2 separate regions of the Homo sapiens genome follow, and region 2 is linked to region 1. Evidence: promoter capture Hi-C in 16 types of primary human blood cells and fetal thymus (Javierre and others, 2016). All regions are on one chromosome and are shown on one strand. The core of a region is centred on a gene start or on the middle of the fragment in contact, and the rest is flanking DNA. Distances in the headings are between cores, read along the strand shown. Region 1 holds the start of C1orf159 (chromosome 1 open reading frame 159). Region 2 holds the start of MIB2 (MIB E3 ubiquitin protein ligase 2).

Evidence for each region. The method cuts DNA at HindIII sites, captures the fragments that hold promoters and counts their contacts. A CHiCAGO score of 5 or more calls a contact.
Region 2: a contact is called between the fragment with the promoter of MIB2 here and the fragment with the promoter of C1orf159 in region 1, in 1 of 17 cell types (fetal thymus). The highest score is 5.6, in fetal thymus.

The regions. Positions count from the first base shown.
Region 1 is chr1:1,112,915-1,119,637 of GRCh38, forward strand. C1orf159 (chromosome 1 open reading frame 159) reads right to left here and starts at 3,175. Exons shown (of 10, transcript NM_017891.5): 1 at 3,146-3,175. RefSeq lists silencers at 2,866-3,465, 3,636-3,755, 3,796-3,845. The HindIII fragment of the contact is 13,608 bases long and covers 758-6,723 here.
Region 2 is chr1:1,612,452-1,619,174 of GRCh38, forward strand. MIB2 (MIB E3 ubiquitin protein ligase 2) reads left to right here and starts at 3,049. Exons shown (of 20, transcript NM_001170687.4): 1 at 3,049-3,182; 2 at 4,057-4,163. RefSeq lists an enhancer at 2,544-2,713 and silencers at 2,814-3,863, 3,894-3,983. The HindIII fragment of the contact is 6,747 bases long and covers 1-4,898 here.

The sequences.
Region 1 (6,723 bases), core at 1,925-4,424:
GTGGGGTGCGGTGGCTCACGCCTGTGATCCCAGCACTTTGGGAGGCTGAGGTGGGTGGATCATCTGAGGTTGGGAGTTCGAGACCAGCCTGACCAAAATGCAGAAACCCCTTCTCTACTAAAATACAAAAAATTAGCCGGTTGTGGTGGCAGGCACCTGTAGTCCCAGCTACTCGGGAGGCTGAGGCAGGAGAATGACATGAACCCGGGAGGCAGAGCTTGCAGTGAGCCGAGATTGTGCCACTGCACTCCAGCCTGGGCGACAGAGACAGACTCCATCTCAAAAAAAAAAAAAAAACTTGCCTCAGTCTCTCCTTCAGCCTCATGTCCTTCCATCAAATTCTTTCTTCTGAGGCAGCGAGAATCGAGGCCGCTGCTGACATACTTTGGTGCTGAAACTCAGATACATTCTGCCAGTAATAGAGCTCTGAAGGCTCACCTGAGCTCCACACTCCACCTCGGCACACGCAACCCTCAGCCAGAGTGGTGAGAAGAGGTGGCTCTTTCTTTTCTTTGTGAAACAGGCTGGAGTGCATCGTTGCGATCTCGGCTCACTGCAGTCTCCACCTCCGGGGCTGAAGCGATCCTCCTGCCTCAGTCCCTCGAGTAGCTGGGACTGTTAGTGGCAGAATATGTCCCACTTCTGACACCAAAGCATGTTAGCAGCAGTGAACCTCAATTTTTCCCTCCTCAGAAGAGTTTGATGGACGGGTAGGAGGCAGAAGAGACCTTAGAGCAGGAGCAACAGTTTATGAAGAAGCTTTAGAGCAGGAATGAAAGGAAGTAAAGCGCCCTTGGAAGAAGGCCAGGCAGGAGACCTGAGAGATCAAGTGCGCAGTTTGACCTTTGACTTAGGGTCTTCCACGCTGGAGGCTTCCGGGGTGTTACGTCTCCCGATTCTTCCCTCGGGGTGGGCCGTCCACCCGCACAGCGGCTGCGGGCACTTGGGAGGGAGCATGCACAGAGTTTACTGGAGTTGTGCGCACGCTCCCTCGAGGCCTTTTTTTTTTTTTTTTTTTTTGAGATGGAGTCTCGCTCTGTCACCCAGGCTGCAGTGCAGTGGCGCAATCTCGGCTCACTGCAACCTCCGCCTCCCGAGTTCAAGCGATTCTCCTGCCTCAGCCTCCTGAGTAGCTGGGACCACAGGCGCCCGCCACCATGCCCGGCTAATTTTTGTATTTTTATCAGAGACGGGGTTTCACCATATTCGCCAGGCTGATCTCAAACTCCTGGCCTTCTGATCCGCCCCCCTCCCCCCACGGCCTTGCAAAGTGCTGGGATTACAGGTGTGAGCCACCGCGCACAGCCAGGGCCGCCTTCTCTTACCAGCCAAATGTCCCTGGTAGAGGGGGGCCCCTCTTCTGCCCTGCTCATGTCTGACTAGCTACCTACTGTAACGGGCCACAGGTGCTTGCCCCCATGCCTGGATAATATTTTTTATTTTTTATAGAGACGAGGTCTCCCTATGTTGCCCAGACTGGTCTCAAGCGATCTCCCACCCCAGCACCCACAGCGCTAGCTGTTCTTTAAATGAGCTACCCAGTAAGTCAAAGCTCAGGTGGAGAGCAGCCGCAAGGCAGGGAGCAGCTGGGAGGTATCTCAGGGGTTCCCGGGATGCTGCCTGTGCACCCCAGGGCTGAGGTGACTGCGTGTGGAAACACCTGCCTGACTGGCTTTTAGGAGGAGTACTGGGGGCGGGATGTGTGTCAGGAAAACAACGTTTCTGTATAATTCATAAACATGTATGTTAAAAACAACGTGGCCATGACGGATCCTGGCTGAATGCAAACGGGGAACATAAACCTGAGTAATCAGGCGCATCACTGAACATCCCAGGCGGCCGCCCCTACCCTGGGGCTCAAAACCGGCTCCCTCTGCGAGGGTTTCCCAGGTTAAGCCATCAGGAAACAGGAAGACGCCTAAGAACGATACACTGGACTTTGGGGACTCGGAGGGAAGGGTGGGAGGGGGACAAGGATAAAAAGCTACAAATAGGGTGCAGTGCGTACTGCTCGGGTGATGGGAGCACCAAAATCTCACAAATCACCACTAAAGAGCTTACCCATGTAACCAAGTAACCAAACACCACCTGTACCCCAGTAACTTACGGAAAAATAAAAGAGGAAGACGCAGCTCTGCCTTCTCTGCACACCCTGGTAATACTAAGAAAAATGAAAACCAAAAAAAGGAGGCCAAGTTTGACATCCTGAAATTTAACAGGACGAGGCGGCTAAGAATTCAGCCACAAAATAGTTCCCGGGGAAGAAGCCGCGTTTGCTTTGAAACGCGGTAAGAAATGCCCCCGAACACCTGGGCTTAAATTACACCCAAACTCAATCATCGACTCGCTGCCACCGGAACACGCGCTCCCGAAAAACTGCACCCCGACTAGCCCTCGGCTACTCCAGGTGACAAACGGACAAAAACAAATCCTAAAGCCTCGCGGGAAAAAGACCTGAATCGTGGCCGACTTCTAGGACACCGGGGACCGCGCCGGTGCCCCCACTCCCGGCTGCCGGGAAGGCGAGGCGAACGCGCCCCCTTTCTTCCCCCGGGCGCCCGTCCCATCCCCTCCCCAGGGACCCCCTCCCTGCCCCGAGAACCCCCTCCCCTCCCCAGGTGCCCCCTCTCCCCCAGAGACCCCCTCCCCTCCCCAGGGACCCCCTTCCCTGCCCCGGGAACCCTTCCCCTCCCCAGGGACCCCCCTCCCTCCCCAGGGACCCCCTCCCCTCCCCAGGGACCCCCTTCCCTGCCCCGGGAACCTTTCCCCTCCCCAGGGACCCCCCCTCCCCGCTCCGGGAACCCCCTCCCCTCCTTAGGGACCCCCTCCCCACCCCTCCCCGGGGTCCCCCTGCCCTCCTCAGACGCCCCTTCCCCTCCCCAGGCGTCCCGCTCAGCCCGGGCGCCTTTCCCCCATAGGACCGCGGCCAGGCTCGTTGGGAGGCGGCGACGAGGACGCGGGCCCAGGCGCTGGCGGCTCCTCCGCGCGCCGCACAATGGGGGACGCGCAGGGAACGTCCCTCGGGCCGGGCCAGGGCCGCCGACCTTTGTCTGCCTCTCGCACTCCCTGCGCCGACCCGGCCGCCCAGACGGACCCCAGCGCCCCAACCCGCTACCCTCACGCCTGCCCCCAGCCCCTCACTCACCCCGGCGCCCTCCGGGTTTCTCTTTCGTACACCCCGCCCTCAGGCGGTGGCGCCGCGCCCCCTGGGACTTGTAGTCTTTCTTCCGCCCCGGCCCCGGCGCCAGGCCCCGCAGCTCCCAAAGAAAACTACAACTCCCGGCGGCCCGCGCGAGAGCCGCCCTCGCCTGGTGGTACCATCGCGCGCGGCCGTGGGTGGGGCGCCGGGGCGGGGCGCGAAGCGCCCTGGGAAATGTAGTCCTAGAAGAACCAGCGCATGTCTCGGGTCCCTGACACGGAGGGACTACATTCCCCCGGATTCCTCGCGCGCCGGCTGCTTGGCGTTGCCGGGAGACGGGGCGGGGCGTCGTCGGGGTCTCCCGGGCGACCGCACAAGCGTCGGCGTCCTTAGCGTTCCGCCGGTTTAGGCGGAGGCGGAGGCGGAGCGTTTGGGGGCGGCCGGGGCGGCTTCGGCTTCATCGGAGAAGGCGGCGCGGCTGCACCAGGTTTGGCCGCGGGCGCGCGGGGCCAGCGCCCTCCAGACCCACGGAGCGCCCCGAGCGCCTCGCGAGCCGCCGCCAAATGCGCCCCAGGTCCGCGGCCGGCGCCAGTGCTGGGACCTCGGCGGCCGGTGTCGGAGCGCGGCGGGAGAGACCCTGCCTTGGGTGCGGGACTGGGACGGCTCGGACCCAGAGGGCTCCCGGGGCTTCGCCTCTCGGACGGGTCAGGGCTCTGCGGTCTCAGGACGCTCCCCCGTGAGTCTCGGCGGCCCCGGGGTCTGGGCGGCGTCGCTGCCCCACAGGCCGGGCGCGTGGGTTTTTCCGGGGCTCTGCCTCTGAGCCACCCTCGGAGAAAAGACAGCTCTGTGCGTCCCGCGGCGCCCGCAGCTTTCGGCAAACATGTTTAAAGGAGCTCCCCGAAGGAACTGGGGACGTCCGTCCGCTCATCAAAGGCTTCAATCCTGTCGGTGTCCCCGGGCCCTCTCCTAGCTGGGCCAGCGCGCAGGGTGGGGGGGCGCTGCAGGTGTCGCGGCCCCCCCCAACCTCCGCAGACCCTTCCAACCCCTCAGACCCCCCAAAACCCCCAGATCCCCCAACCCCCCATATACCCCCAACCCCTCAGACCCCCCAACCCCCCAGACCCCCCAACCTCCCAGGCCCCCAGACCCCCCAGCTCCCTTGCTCCCGGGAGCTCCCAGGCCCGTCCTGCATGCGCCTTGGGGTTGTTCCTCCTTGATGGACGCCGCCTCCGGGTTCCATCCCAAGTTTAAATGCCAGAGATTTCAATGGAAATAAAGCCCCCATCTTAACAGCGTGAGGATGTTTTGTAAACAGTATTGGGGACAGCTGGGGAAGTCACATTTGTGTCTTCTCTTTAGAGGGACAGTGTTCGCCTGAGGGTCCATCCCAGGGTTCCCTCAGGGCCTCTGGAGGAGTTGATGCCACCAGTGTCTGGCCGTGGGACACCTGGGCGTGGGCGCCCAGCACCAGGGGTTCGCTGACAGCTGCAGGGTTTCCGGCCATGCGCCCGCGGACGTGCAGCTTCTGTGTCGGTCCCATTAAGAGGAACCTGGCCTGGGCGACGTTTGAGGACCACGGGGAGGACACAGTCGCGGTCCCCTTCTCGGAGTCCAGTCTGTGCCACAGGCTCTTGCCGTCTGCGGCAACTCATTGTGGAGCTGAGCCAGTGTTTCCACTTCCTTTTTGTTTTTTTGTGTTTGAGAGGATTTCACGCTGTCACCCAGGCTGGATGCAGTGGCATGATCGTGGCTCACTGCAGCCTGGACCTCCTAGGCTCAAGCGATCCTCCACCTCAGCCTCCAGAGTAGCTGGGACCACGGGTGTGTGCCACCATGCCTTGACACATATTTCTTTATTTTTTTGTAGAGACGGGGGTCTGTTTTGCCCAGGCTGGTCTCAAACTCCTGGGCTCAAGCAGTCCTCCCGCCTGGCCCTCCCAAAGTGCTGAGACTACAGGCGTGAGCCACCATGCCTGGCGTCCACTTTCTTGACTATTTCCTGAAGACCAGCGTTTCCCGGGTGGTTTCACAGCTGCGGAAGCTGCCTGTGTCAGTGTCAAGTCCCTACCCCTCGGCTTGGCCTGGGGCTGTGGCCCTGGGTGACCGTGTCCTTATGCTGGAGCTTGGTCCACAAGTGTCCCCGCCCCTTGTTCCGTCACTCATGGTGGTCTGCACCTCTCTACACGTTGGCCCCTGTCAGAGGGAAGAAGGCAAAGTCCTGGAGCTGCGGGAAGCCGTGCAGTGCATGTGTGTGTGCCTCGGGCCCGGGCTGCAGGCCCCAACAGGGCCCACCCAGCACCTGCTGAACTGTGCTCTGAGACCAGCACCCACCTGATCTCTGGGAGCAGAGCCCCTGCCGGCGTGGGCCAACCTGACAGCAGCTGCCTGGGCACTGGGCACTCCCTCGTCTGTCAGGCGGGCAGTGGATAGCTCGTCCTCTCCCTGGGGAAGGGAGACGAGGCCATGCGAGATGTCCCTGGAGGCTCCCTCCTGAGTAACCGCACGGGGTGCACATTCCCGAGAACACGAAAGGGTGCAGGATTCCACTAGGCCAGGTGGAAACATAAGGACACCGTAGGGTCGCATCAAGTTGAAGGACAATCTCTAGACTAAAACAGAAACGACATTTACTCCCCTAAGGGCCACACGGGCTGAATCCCATCCTCAGGTTATAGCAGGGATGCTAGGTCTGAAAGCCACAGGGGAGCATCGTAAGTCGCAGGTGCCCACAGATCACACCAGGGACCCCACCTCTGCCAACCGGGCTGTTTGTGTCCCCGAAAGGGAGCACTTTCCTCCCCAGAGACTTCAGGTGCAGTATGGGAAGGTTGGGGAACTAAAAAGCTGTGCACTAATATTTTTTGTATTAAAATAGAACCATCTTATGTTTGTAATGCATGGGGTTTTGTAGGGGCGGGATGTTTTGTTGAGATGAGGACTCGCTCTGTCGCCCAGGCAGGAGTGCGGTGGTGCCATCGTAGCTCACTGCAGCCTCGACCGCCCGGGCTCAAGGATCCTCCTGCCTTGGCCTCCCACAGCACCTGGGGCCACAGGTGTGAGCTGCCGTGCCCAGCCCGGCATTCATAATGCTCAAGAGAACTTGTCCTGAGAGAGGGTCGGCTTTGCCACTGAATCATCTTTCAAATGAGGAAATTATTTAGGCTCTGTAGTGTAAGTGGAATCTTACTGCATTTATGTAGGGTCTTGGAAAACTTAAGAGATTTTAGGAACAAACTATATGTTTAACGAGTCTGGAGGTATATCAGTGATTTAGTGGGGAAGATTTTGTTAATTCAAAGTGTTTGCAAACGAGTTAGAACATACGCATTTGTAAATACAGTGTAAAATGTTTGCTGGTGGGCTGTGAATTAAGAGCAGAAGGAGATGCCACCGCCTGTCCAGATGGCCAGGATTTAAACAGCCACAGCTGGTCCCTCATGCACTGCGGGGGTTGCGGAATGGTGCGGCCCCCTGGAGAGCCCTTGGCAGTTCCTTAAAAATTGGAACATGCAGGTGCCGTGGAAGGCAGCAGTGGCATTCTGGGGCATTCATCTCAGAGAAATAAAAACTTCACACACTCGCCG
Region 2 (6,723 bases), core at 1,799-4,298, 500 kb after region 1:
TCCCCTTGGTCAAAAGGGAATCTGTTCAGTTGGTGGAGGGCTGGCTGGGTGTGGTGGCTCACATCCCAGCACTTTTGTTTTTTCTTTTTCTTTTCTTTTTTTTTTTTTGTTTTTTTTGTTTTTGAGACGGAGTCTCACTCTGTCACCCAGGCTGGAGTGCAGTGGCCAGATCTTGGCTCACTGCAACCTCTGCCTCCTGGGTTCAAGCAATTCTCCCACCTCAGCCTCCCAAGTAGCTGGGACTACAGGCGAGCACCACCAAGCCCGGCTAATTTTTGTATTTTTAGTAGAGATGGGGTTTTGCCATGTTGGCAAGGCTGGTCTCCAACTCCTGGCCACAGGTGATCCTCCCACCTTGGCCTCACAAAGTGTTGGGATTACAGGCGTGAGCCACTGTGCCTGGCTGGTTTTTTTTCTTTTTTTTTTTTTTTGAGACAGAGTCTTCCTCTGTCACCAGGCTGGCGTACGGTGGCATGATCTTGGCTCACTGTAACCTCCGATTCCTGGGTTCAAGCCATTCTCCTGGCTCAGCCTCCCAAGTAGCTGGGATTACAGGTGCCCACCACCACACCCAGCTAATTTTTGTATTTTTAGTAGAGACGGGGTTTCACCATGTTGGCCAGGCTGGTCTCGATCTTATGACCTCATGATCTGCCTGCCTTGGCCTCCCAAAGTGCTGGGATTGCAGGCATGAGCCACCGCGTCTGGCTTTTTTTTTTTTTTTTTTTGAGACGGATTCTTGCTCTGTTCCCCAGGCTGGAGTGCAGTGTCACGATCTCAGCTCACTGCAACCTCCACCTCCTGGGCTCAAGCAATTCTCCTGCCTCAGCCTCCCAAGTAGCTGGGACTACAGGCGTGCACCACCATGCCTGGCTAATATTTTTTTTTTTTGTATTTTTGTATTTTTAGTAGAGACAGGGCTTCACCATGTTGGTCAGGTTGGTCATGAACTCCTGACCTCAAGTGATCTGCCCTCCTCAGCCTCCCAAACTGCTGGGATTACAGGCGTGAAGCCATCGCACCCAGCCAATCCCAGCACTTCAGAAGGCAGAGGTGAGCAAACAGCATAGCCCAGGAGTTTGAGACCAGCCTGGGCAACATGGTGACACCCTGTCTCTACTAAAAATTTAAAAATAACCGGCATGGTGGTGCATGTCTGTGGTCCTAGCTACTCAGGAGGCTGAGGTGGGAGGATCACTTGAATCCAGGAAGCAGAGGCTGCAGTCAACCAAGATAGTGCCACTGCACTCCAGCCTGGGCAACAGAGCAAGACCCTGTCTCAAATACAAAACAAAACAAAAAACAGTTGGTAGAGAGCTTAGGATTTTATTTTTCGTTTACACAGGGAATCCAAGAAAGGAGACAGACAAAGTGAGTCTCAAGGATGAGAGCAGAGAAAAGCTCGAGATAAGAGCTGTGCAGCCGGGTCAGGAAGTGATCGGTCTAGGTCGGAACAGGAGAATCAGTTAGACACAACGGATGTGTTTGAGCCTTTGGAAAACGGTATCGTTAGGCATGTGGCGAAAACGTTGGGGTACTTGAAAAAAAGGCTGGCCATGGGTTAGTAAAAAGCTAGATATGTGAAAATATTAGGTAATTATTAACTCAAAAGAAAAAAAAAGATTGTACAGGAATTGTGGCATGGTTTTATACTGTAGCAGTGAACAGCAGGTACTCAATCATGAAGAGCTAAGCCTGATTTCATCACGACAGCTGTGAAAGTTGCAGGTACCAAAATGGAACTACTTCCACCAATCCCTAAACAAATGGAGTCGGGAGGCCACGAAGGGGGAGCTCTCATGCAGGAATACCTGCAGCAGGCCTCCTCACAAGACGCTCCTGCACGTCCTGCACGTTTGCCTGTAACCGGACTTACTGCAGGGAAATTCCTCAGGACTGCAGTATTCTAGATAAGCAGCTTGCACAAGGACGTCGGCCTGGTAAGGCTCTCTCCAACAACAAGCTAACGCCCACTCCTGCAGCAAGCGCCCACAGCCAGTGGTTTTTGTTACAAAACAACTTTTGTGAGCTCATCTGTATTTTCCCCTTCGCCCGGCCCTCTCAGATAGGCCTATGATCTGTCATGGCACGAACAGCCTAGGCTGCAACCCCCTGCGATTCCCAGATTAACTCACTTGTCCTGGAGAGCCTGCCTCTGGGTTTCCTTTCAGGTTGACAGTTTGGGAGCTAACAGGACCACGTGAGGGGTGCAGCGGGGAAGATCAGCCAGGTTCTCAGGGACCTTCTCCGGAAGTACGCAATGTCTACAATTAAGAAATGAGAGGCCGGGCGCGGTGGCTCACGCCTATAATCCCAGCACGTTGGGAGCCCTAGGAGGGCAGATCACGAGGTCAGGAGTTCGAAATCAGCCTGGCCAAAATGGTGAAACCCCGTCTTGACTAAAAATGCAAAAATTAGCTGTGCGTGGTAGCGCATGCCTGTAGTCCCAGCTGCTCGGGAGGCTGAAGCAAGAGAATAGTTTAAGCCCTGGAGGCGGAGGTTGCAATGAGCCGAGATCGCGCCATTGCACTCCAGCCTGGGCGACAGGGCGAGGCTCCGTCTCCAAAAAAAAAAAAAGAAAGAAAGAAAGAAATGAGAAACTAGCAGTGCATTGTTCAGAAACGCGGAGACTTCTCTCAGGAGAAAGCGAGAAGCAAGCGTCCAACTCTGGGGTGCAGAACCCGGGGCGGGAGGACGGGCCCGGACTGCCGTTTCTCGCTGTGTCCAGGTCTGCGTGACTCAAAACCCCGGATAGGGCCCGCACTGGTGGAGTCGGAAAGAGGTGGCTGCGGCGCGGCAAGTGCCGCCAGTGCCAGCGAGCGCGACGTCGCTCCCAAGCCCCCGTCTCTATGGCAACCGAGTGCGTCTCTAGGACCGCCACTGCGCAGGCGCCCGGAGGCTAAGCCGCTCGGAACCTAGCTGCGCCACGCAGGGTAGGCGACGCAGACGCTCCCGCGTGACGCACTTCCGGTGCTTGCCCTGCCCATCCCCGTGGCGGGGGCGTGGCCATGGCGGGGGCGCTCCGGCGGGGGCGGGCCCTGGGCTCCCGCCCTTCGGGTCCCACAGTTTCCAGCCGCCGCTCTCCTCAGTGCCCGGTGGCCCAGGAGGGCCTGGGAGCCCGAAGCCGTCCCCGAGTCGCTCCTAGGTCACTGGCGCGATGCGGGCCGTCCTCTCGGCTGATGGTGCGTGCGGGCGCGGATCTCCTCCCCTGGTCCTCCGCACCGTCCCCGAGTCGTTCTCCGCTCTGGCAGAACGCGAGCGCCGTCCGGTTCCCGCTCCCGCTGGCCCAGCAGCCCCGGGCTGGACTCGGCGTAGGGTCCGCACGGGATGGGCTGGGGCTGCGCGCGCAGCGCCGCCGCGGGGCCTCCTGGGAGTTGTGGTCCGGCCACCCGCGCGGGACTCCAGCTCCCGGCAGGCCTCGCGCGGCCCGGGGCCAGCGGCGCTGGGGTCGGCGCTGGGGTCGTCGTCCGGGCCGGGTGGGCTGCGGCGCGCGGCAGGCGCTCTGGCCTGGCCTGGCCGCCGCTGAGCAGTCGGGGCCGGTGGGTGGCCTCGAACGCCGGGACAGACCGACAGACGGACTGGCCGGCGGTCCCGCGCCCCCGAGCGGAGCGGGCGGGACGGAAACGTCCGGGCAAGTTGGGGTCGGCAGGTACTGCGCGGCCCTGGCAAGGTCTGGCAGCGGACAGGGCCGGGCGGCCTCCGCGAGCCACGGGCACGAATGACAGGGGGCGGGGCGCGCTCCGGGTGGGGGTGCCCGCCGTGCCCGCCCCTGGCCCGCCCGTTCCCCTGCGCCGGCGCCCGTGCGCGTCCCGGAGCCTCCTGACGTCTGCGAGCCGCGGCCGCCAGACCCCGGGCGCACGCAATTACGGGCCCGGCGCTGGCGGCTCCTGCGCGCTCAGACCCCAGGGAGCCCATCCGGGCAGGCGGCGGCCCTGAGTGTCGCGGCCGTGGGCCCGAGTGGACCTGGAGCCGGCGGGCAGCCCCGGGGGCAGACAGGCGACCGAGCCGCGGGTCGAGGTGCTAACTGTGCATCTTGGCATCTCCCCTCGGCCACAGGGTTGGAAGCCCAGCGAGGCTAGAGGCCAGTCCCAAAGTTTCCAGGCATCAGGGCTGCAGCCCAGGAGCCTCAAGGCGGCCCGGCGGGCGACTGGACGGCCGGACAGGTGAGCTCTTGATCGTCCGCGGCCTGATAGTTTGCACTTGGCTCTCCCACTTTGGGGCTCCGTGGAAGCCACGTCAGAGAGGCTGTGTTTGTGTCTGAGCATGCATGCGAGTGGAGGGGAGTGGTGAGTAATCCCGCGTCTCCTCTCTGAGTTCGGAACCCATGGAGGAAGAAAGCAGAGGTGCCAGACAGGCCTCTGATAGGCACCTGCAGGATTGGGGCAGAGCGGCCGCAGCGCAGGAGCGCCGGCAAGCCTGGCCCTTCCCGGGAGGCCCCCTTTGTCCGGTTCCACCCTGGCCTGTTGCCTCACATGCAACAAGTGTCTGAATGTGGCGCTCTCCTGGCCGAGGGCAGCCCTGGGCGGTGAGTGGGATGACACCCCAGCCTGCAGGGTGCCTGTAGGTCTCCACCCAGATGGGCAGGATTGGAGGTGGCCGCAGCGCTCGTGGGCTTTCCCTCAGCAGGTGTCTCCATGCTGGCCTCCCCGCCTCAGGGCTTCATCCCACTCCGTGGGCCTGATCTCCCTGGGGCACCTGGGATGTCCATCTGCGTTAGCTGGAGCTACTCCATGGCCTGTGGCGTGCCACACACAGCGGCATTTCGGTGTCATTAGGCACAGCTGGAGGTGCAAGGAGGAGGGCAGCCTCATGTCCAGTTCCATGTAACTTGCTTCTTCTGAATAAAGGCAATTTGCTAACTTTCTCGCTAAATAGGATTTGGTTTCTATGGCTTTTAAAGCTTCTCCGATAAAATACTTGCAATAAGGGAACTCTCTCCTCCTACACTCTCCTGACTGATGGTTCGGAAGTCCTCCTGCCCTCTGAGAGCTTGCAGTTTCTTGTGAAAAAGAGAAACTAAGCAGCAATAGAACAGACCCGGTGTCTGCTTGCGTGGTTAAGACGGTAAATGCTAAATGTGTGACACTGCCTTTAGAAACCATTTTCTCCAGCCTGGCTTGCTGGCTGCCCGTCTGGTTTGCTGTGTTGTGTCTCCAGTGGCTTTAGCTTCCAACAGGAAAGCCTGGTAGCCGAGCGAATCTGTGACCCAGGAAGTAGCAATTAAATGCCTGGGACGCTGCCTCGAGGCTGGTGTGTGCTCTGAGGTAAGTTCCGATTTGCCAAAGCACATCTGTCGATCTGTCGCCCGAGTCTTCACACCCTGACTGCCTCCATCATTTTAAACATCGGGAGCAGTTGCCTGCAGCGGGGTTCAGATGCCAGCCAGGGGCACAGCCTGTGAACTGTGGGTAGATGGCAAAGTCTAGCATTTCTGGCAAAGGAAAAAACATTTGGTAACTCTCTGAGTAAATTTCTGACTGAGATGAAGATACCCATTGTGGGGCAGCATCCTGAAGCGGAAGCCTGGGCTGTATGTTTCCAAGAGGAGGAGCAGGAGTGGCCACAGCCATGTACGCCACGATGTACACCAGGGGCTGCGTGGCCACAGCTCTGGTCTGCTGGTCTGCTCCCTGGAGCCCCTCCACCAGTGCTGGGCTGTGGCTGTGGCTGTCTCTGGTTTGTCTTTCTGGGAAACCTTGGCCAGGTTGGTGTGAGGGCAGGGCTAGCCTTGGACATCTGCACTTCCCATAGCAGCCTCTGGCCCAGAGCTCACCCGCTGTGGGCAGGTGATCAGGGTGATCAGGTCCCACGGGTCCCCTCCTCTGCACCTGGAGCCTTGTGGGTGTAGAACAGAAAAATAGGAGGGGGCAACCCAGAGGCCTCCTGCTCTCCAGGAAGGAATGGATGCTGGACAGGTCCAGGGTGGAGGCAGAGGGAGTGAGGGGCCCTTGGGGGAACATCTGTCCTAGAGGGCTTGATTTCCAGGCTGCCCACCCCACTCCTACCCCTAATCTGGTGTTCCTCACCTGCCTCCAGGAAGTCCTCACCTGAGGTCTGCAGCGGGTGTGCCAAGCGCCAGCCCCACATCACCTGCTCCCAGGCCTGCCCAGGGGATGGGTCCTGTGGCCAGTACCCTCGGGGTCAGCTTGACCCAGACCCAGCCCAGAACCTGTCCCATGGCCCCAGGAGGACAGGATGGTCAGGGAAGCCCAAGGGATGAGCCCTTTTGTCCACAAGCTTCCCTCTGACATGGGCAGGCTGCTTGTGCGACCCCACAGCCCCCACCTCTCATGAACAATGGGAATGGGGCAGGCCCCTCGATGCTGGGCTGGATCCTCCCGCCCCTAAGCAGGTGCACTCTGTCCCCTTTGAGAAGAGACCAAGGGATACAAGTGCTGGGTCCTGGCGGGGTGCCCCTCCTCCCTGCCTGTGGGGGTCTCATTACTGCCTCCTGCCCCCACCACAAACACCCCCTAGAGAGGCCTTCGGAGGCAGGTACTGAGCCCTGGGGCCAGGGTGCCAGGAGCCCAGTGGCAGGTCTTGGGTGACTGCTGGCCCTGGGGCAATGGTGAGAAAGCCAGGCAGGCAGCTGCAGGAAGGAGCTGAGGAGAAAGGCGGCAGAGCCTCAAAAGCTGCTGGCGGCCGGGCACAGTGGCTCACACCTGGAATCCCAGCACTTTGGGAGGCCGAGGCGGGCGGATCACGAGGTCAGGAGATCGAGAC